2 separate regions of the Homo sapiens genome follow, and region 2 is linked to region 1. Evidence: promoter capture Hi-C in 16 types of primary human blood cells and fetal thymus (Javierre and others, 2016). All regions are on one chromosome and are shown on one strand. The core of a region is centred on a gene start or on the middle of the fragment in contact, and the rest is flanking DNA. Distances in the headings are between cores, read along the strand shown. Region 1 holds the start of SLC2A4 (solute carrier family 2 member 4). Region 2 overlaps TP53 (tumor protein p53).

Region 1 (2,710 bases), core at 1-2,500:
AGGAGGAATCGAGCCTGACTTCTACCATAGGGGTGACTGGGCGGGTAATTCATTGAAATAAGGAAGTTAGGAGGAGGAGCAGGTTTGGACATGCTGATCACTAGAGCTGCCACATCCGGGCGGTAACGAACACCTGGATCTGCAGCTCCAGAGAAGGGCCTGGGTCAGATGTCACTGAAGCCCTATGGTGGCGGAAAGGCGAGAAATAGTGGGTTGAGATTCCAAGTGCAATCCACTGCGGCTCCTCGCTCGCCCTCCAGGTGGCAGCACAACCCTGCGCTTCCGAAGCCCGTTTTCTGAGCCAGACACTCTCCACGCTCTGGGTATTTCGGCTTCTCTCTCCCCACACGCCGACCCTAGGTCGCGCACTTTCTGCCTGGCAGAATTTGGCCGAGGATCCAAACCCGGAGCAGCCTCCAGAGAGCGTGTCGTTCACGCGGCCAGCATATGCTCAGAGACCTCAGAGGCTCAGAGACCTCAGGGCTGGTGGTGTGGTCGGTTGTGACCACTTGTCCCTCGGACCGGCTCCAGGAACCAACCTGGGGAATGTGTGTAGGGGAAGGGCGGGATAGACAGTGCCCGGAGCAGGGAGGCGCTGAAAGACAGGACCAAGCAGCCCGGCCACCAGACCCGTTGTGGGAACGGAATTTCCTGGCCCCCAGGGCCACACTCGCGTGGGAAGCATGTCGCGGACTCTTTAAGGCGTCATCTCCCTGTCTCTCCGCCCCCGCCTGGGACAGGCCGGGACGCCCGGGACCTGACATTTGGAGGCTCCCAACGTGGGAGCTAAAAATAGCAGCCCCGGGTTACTTTGGGGCATTGCTCCTCTCCCAACCCGCGCGCCGGCTCGCGAGCCGTCTCAGGCCGCTGGAGTTTCCCCGGGGCAAGTACACCTGGCCCGTCCTCTCCTCTCAGACCCCACTGTCCAGACCCGCAGAGTTTAAGATGCTTCTGCAGCCCGGGATCCTAGCTGGTGGGCGGAGTCCTAACACGTGGGTGGGCGGGGCCTTTTGTTCCAGGGACTCTTTTCTCAAAACTTCCCAGTCGGAGGCTGGCGGGAACCCGAGAGGCGTGTCTCGCCAGCCACGCGGAGGGGCGTGGCCTCATTGGCCCGCCCCACCAACTCCAGCCAAACTCTAAACCCCAGGCGGAGGGGGCGTGGCCTTCTGGGGTGTGCGGGCTCCTGGCCAATGGGTGCTGTGAAGGGCGTGGCCCGCGGGGGCAGGAGCGAGGTGGCGGGGGCTTCTCGCGTCTTTTCCCCCAGCCCCGCTCCACCAGATCCGCGGGAGCCCCACTGCTCTCCGGGTCCTTGGCTTGTGGCTGTGGGTCCCATCGGGCCCGCCCTCGCACGTCACTCCGGGACCCCCGCGGCCTCCGCAGGTTCTGCGCTCCAGGCCGGAGTCAGAGACTCCAGGATCGGTTCTTTCATCTTCGCCGCCCCTGCGCGTCCAGCTCTTCTAAGACGAGATGCCGTCGGGCTTCCAACAGATAGGCTCCGAAGTAGGATTCATCATGAGGGGGCGGGGCGGGGGGGCACGGGTCCCGCTTTTCTTGGGCTGGGGTCGCGGTTGGGGTCAGCTGGGGGTGGTTCCTGCGCAGGCGCAGGGGGTGAAGGTAGGGGGCTGGCTATTTATACCCGGCCTGGACAACCCGTGACTGTGAGATTCCAATCCTACCAAAAGGCAGAGTGGGTCTGGAGGGCCTTTCGGGGCACAGGCAGCAAGTGGATTCTGCGAGCCAGGGTTCACCCCCTTGCCTAGTAGGCGGCGCGGCGCTCCGGAATCGGGGACACCCTGCCCTCGATCCGACTCGGGAAAGCAGATCCAGGCGGGTCTTGCCCTCCGGGAGCTGTCCGTCCGTCTTCGCTCACGGGCAGTGTTTCGAGGACCGGAGGCTCTCCGTGGGCCCCCACCCCCACTCCTGGCCGCCCTCCAGGACGCTGAACTTTCCCTTGGCCCCATGGTTGGTGGAGGGGCAGAGGGGACTGTCAGCCCCCCCTCCTCCAGCTCAGGTTTCCGCTTGGAGACAGTCTGTGCCGCCAGCGAGCGGCCACCACTGCCACCGCCCCTCACACTACCTTCCTGCCCTCCTCCCCTGGGCATGGCTCTCCCAGGCAGAACCCCTGGACGGCCCTCCCTGCACGGAGGTTAGAGGGGGAGGGCAGGCCACGACGTAGATAGAGAAGGCCACCCCTAGATGACCGGGATGTCCTTTCTGGAACAGCACTTCTTGGTCCTGTTGGGGGCCTCCTGGAGCTGGCTGACAGAACCCCCAGAGGGGAGGGAAGAGGACAGTGGCTGATGATAATAATGCACGTGTTAATTTATGAAACCAGCACTGTCAAGGATATTGTTAACATGTGATGTTGATTTTCACAACACTCTCACAGATAGGTAGGCAAGGCAGGCAACATCACCCCCATCTCACAGAGGACACTCAGGTTCGGGGCAGGGAAGTGACTTGGCCAAGGTCACACAAATCTGAGCTCTTAAGGCCAAGCCTGTCTCAAGGTCACAGAAGAATTTTGAGACAAGTTCTCAAACATTTCTCTGCCTTATGGACCCAAACATCCAGTTTCTCCTTTATGCCCAGGTTGCAGTTCAGCTCCTGTTTACATTGAGATCTTTGTGCAATTCCTAATATGGCCCAGTTTCCCTCACCCAACATGTTGGGTGGAGCCCAGTATCTTCAGGCTCCAGCTGGGCCCGGG
Region 2 (2,710 bases), core at 1-2,500, 390 kb after region 1:
AAAGCCCCCCTACTGCTCACCTGGAGGGCCACTGACAACCACCCTTAACCCCTCCTCCCAGAGACCCCAGTTGCAAACCAGACCTCAGGCGGCTCATAGGGCACCACCACACTATGTCGAAAAGTGTTTCTGTCATCCAAATACTCCACACGCAAATTTCCTTCCACTCGGATAAGATGCTGAGGAGGGGCCAGACCTAAGAGCAATCAGTGAGGAATCAGAGGCCTGGGGACCCTGGGCAACCAGCCCTGTCGTCTCTCCAGCCCCAGCTGCTCACCATCGCTATCTGAGCAGCGCTCATGGTGGGGGCAGCGCCTCACAACCTCCGTCATGTGCTGTGACTGCTTGTAGATGGCCATGGCGCGGACGCGGGTGCCGGGCGGGGGTGTGGAATCAACCCACAGCTGCACAGGGCAGGTCTTGGCCAGTTGGCAAAACATCTTGTTGAGGGCAGGGGAGTACTGTAGGAAGAGGAAGGAGACAGAGTTGAAAGTCAGGGCACAAGTGAACAGATAAAGCAACTGGAAGACGGCAGCAAAGAAACAAACATGCGTAAGCACCTCCTGCAACCCACTAGCGAGCTAGAGAGAGTTGGCGTCTACACCTCAGGAGCTTTTCTTTTTTTTTTTTTTTTTTGAGATAGGGTCTTGCTCTGTCACTCAGGCTGGAGCACAGTGGTGTGATCACAGCTCACTGCAGCCTCCATCTCCTGGCCTCAAGTGATCTTCCCACCTCAGCCTCCTAAGTGGCTGGGACTATAGGTGTGCACCACCATGCCTGGCTAATTTTTTGTATTTTTTTGTAGAGACGAGGTTTCATCATGTTACCCAGGCTGGTCTTGAACTCCTGGGCTCAGGTGATCTGCCTGCCTTGGCCTCTTTGAGAGTGCTGGGATTGCAGGTGTGAGCCACCAAGCCTGGTCAGGAGCTTATTTTCAAAAGCCAAGGAATACACGTGGATGAAGAAAAAGAAAAGTTCTGCATCCCCAGGAGAGATGCTGAGGGTGTGATGGGATGGATAAAAGCCCAAATTCAAGGGGGGAATATTCAACTTTGGGACAGGAGTCAGAGATCACACATTAAGTGGGTAAACTATAAAAAAACACTGACAGGAAGCCAAAGGGTGAAGAGGAATCCCAAAGTTCCAAACAAAAGAAATGCAGGGGGATACGGCCAGGCATTGAAGTCTCATGGAAGCCAGCCCCTCAGGGCAACTGACCGTGCAAGTCACAGACTTGGCTGTCCCAGAATGCAAGAAGCCCAGACGGAAACCGTAGCTGCCCTGGTAGGTTTTCTGGGAAGGGACAGAAGATGACAGGGGCCAGGAGGGGGCTGGTGCAGGGGCCGCCGGTGTAGGAGCTGCTGGTGCAGGGGCCACGGGGGGAGCAGCCTCTGGCATTCTGGGAGCTTCATCTGGACCTGGGTCTTCAGTGAACCATTGTTCAATATCGTCCGGGGACAGCATCAAATCATCCATTGCTTGGGACGGCAAGGGGGACTGTAGATGGGTGAAAAGAGCAGTCAGAGGACCAGGTCCTCAGCCCCCCAGCCCCCCAGCCCTCCAGGTCCCCAGCCCTCCAGGTCCCCAGCCCAACCCTTGTCCTTACCAGAACGTTGTTTTCAGGAAGTCTGAAAGACAAGAGCAGAAAGTCAGTCCCATGGAATTTTCGCTTCCCACAGGTCTCTGCTAGGGGGCTGGGGTTGGGGTGGGGGTGGTGGGCCTGCCCTTCCAATGGATCCACTCACAGTTTCCATAGGTCTGAAAATGTTTCCTGACTCAGAGGGGGCTCGACGCTAGGATCTGACTGCGGCTCCTCCATGGCAGTGACCCGGAAGGCAGTCTGGCTGCTGCAAGAGGAAAAGTGGGGATCCAGCATGAGACACTTCCAACCCTGGGTCACCTGGGCCTGCAGAGAAGGAACCCCCTCCCCCAACACCATGCCAGTGTCTGAGACAGCTCGGCTTCCTGTGGAGCAGGAAAAGAATGGCTGCTTCACATTCTCTCTTCCAATGTTTCACCACAACCCAAGCACTCCTGCCCCACCCCTCACCAGCCATGCACTTCTTTGAGGAAAAGACAATCAGAGAGGGACTTCCAACCTTCCCACCACTAAATCCCCAAGACTTCCTAAATGTGCACCCTATTCCCAACTCCCTTCCTGTATTTTTTTTTTTTTTTTGAGATGGAGTCTCTCTCTGTCACCTAGGCTGGAGCACAGTGGCATGATCTCAGCTCACTGCAACCTCTACCTTCCGGGTTCAAGCCATTCTCCTGCCTCAGTCTCCCGAGTAGCTGGGATTACAGGCGAGTACCACCACACCCAGCTAATTTTTGTATTTTTAGTAGAGACAGGGCTTTGCATGTTGGCCAGGCTGGTCTCGAACTCCTTACTTCAGGTGATCGGCCCGCCTCAGCCTCCTAAAGTGCCAAGATTACAGGTGTGAGCTACCGTGCCCTGCTCCCACCTCCTGTTAACAAGGATATAGTCATTCTCAGCCTGCAATCTCTGTATGGGGAAGGACACCCCCTTGGCCCCCACCCTTCCCCACCTGATACACGGCTCCATTTCTTTGATTCCTTTCACTGCAAAGCTTCTGGAAGAACAACTGTCTCACCGCTCACCTGCCCATTCTCTTCGGACACTCCTCAGCCCTGCATTACAAACCCCTCACGAATGGCCCGTCTCGGCTTCTTTAATCTCATCTCTTAA

Evidence for each region. Contacts are between HindIII fragments. The CHiCAGO score rates a contact against its expected background, and 5 or more counts as called.
Region 2: a contact is called between a fragment that was not itself captured here and the fragment with the promoter of SLC2A4 in region 1, in 2 of 17 cell types (neutrophils and activated CD4 T cells). The highest score is 5.6, in neutrophils.

Annotation. Positions count from the first base shown.
Region 1 is chr17:7,280,468-7,283,177 of GRCh38, forward strand. SLC2A4 (solute carrier family 2 member 4) reads left to right here and starts at 1,251. Exons shown (of 11, transcript NM_001042.3): 1 at 1,251-1,500. The coding sequence starts at 1,468. RefSeq lists a silencer at 1,215-1,364 and an enhancer at 1,497-2,484. The HindIII fragment of the contact is 20,977 bases long and covers 1-2,710 here.
Region 2 is chr17:7,674,776-7,677,485 of GRCh38, forward strand. It overlaps TP53 (tumor protein p53), which reads right to left. Exons shown (of 11, transcript NM_000546.6): 2 at 1,746-1,847; 3 at 1,607-1,628; 4 at 1,219-1,497; 5 at 278-461; 6 at 84-196. The coding sequence starts at 1,819. Among named protein-coding and RNA genes, the nearest start is that of TP53, 11 kb to the right of the region's middle. RefSeq lists an enhancer at 2,194-2,710. The HindIII fragment of the contact is 2,678 bases long and covers 1-2,589 here.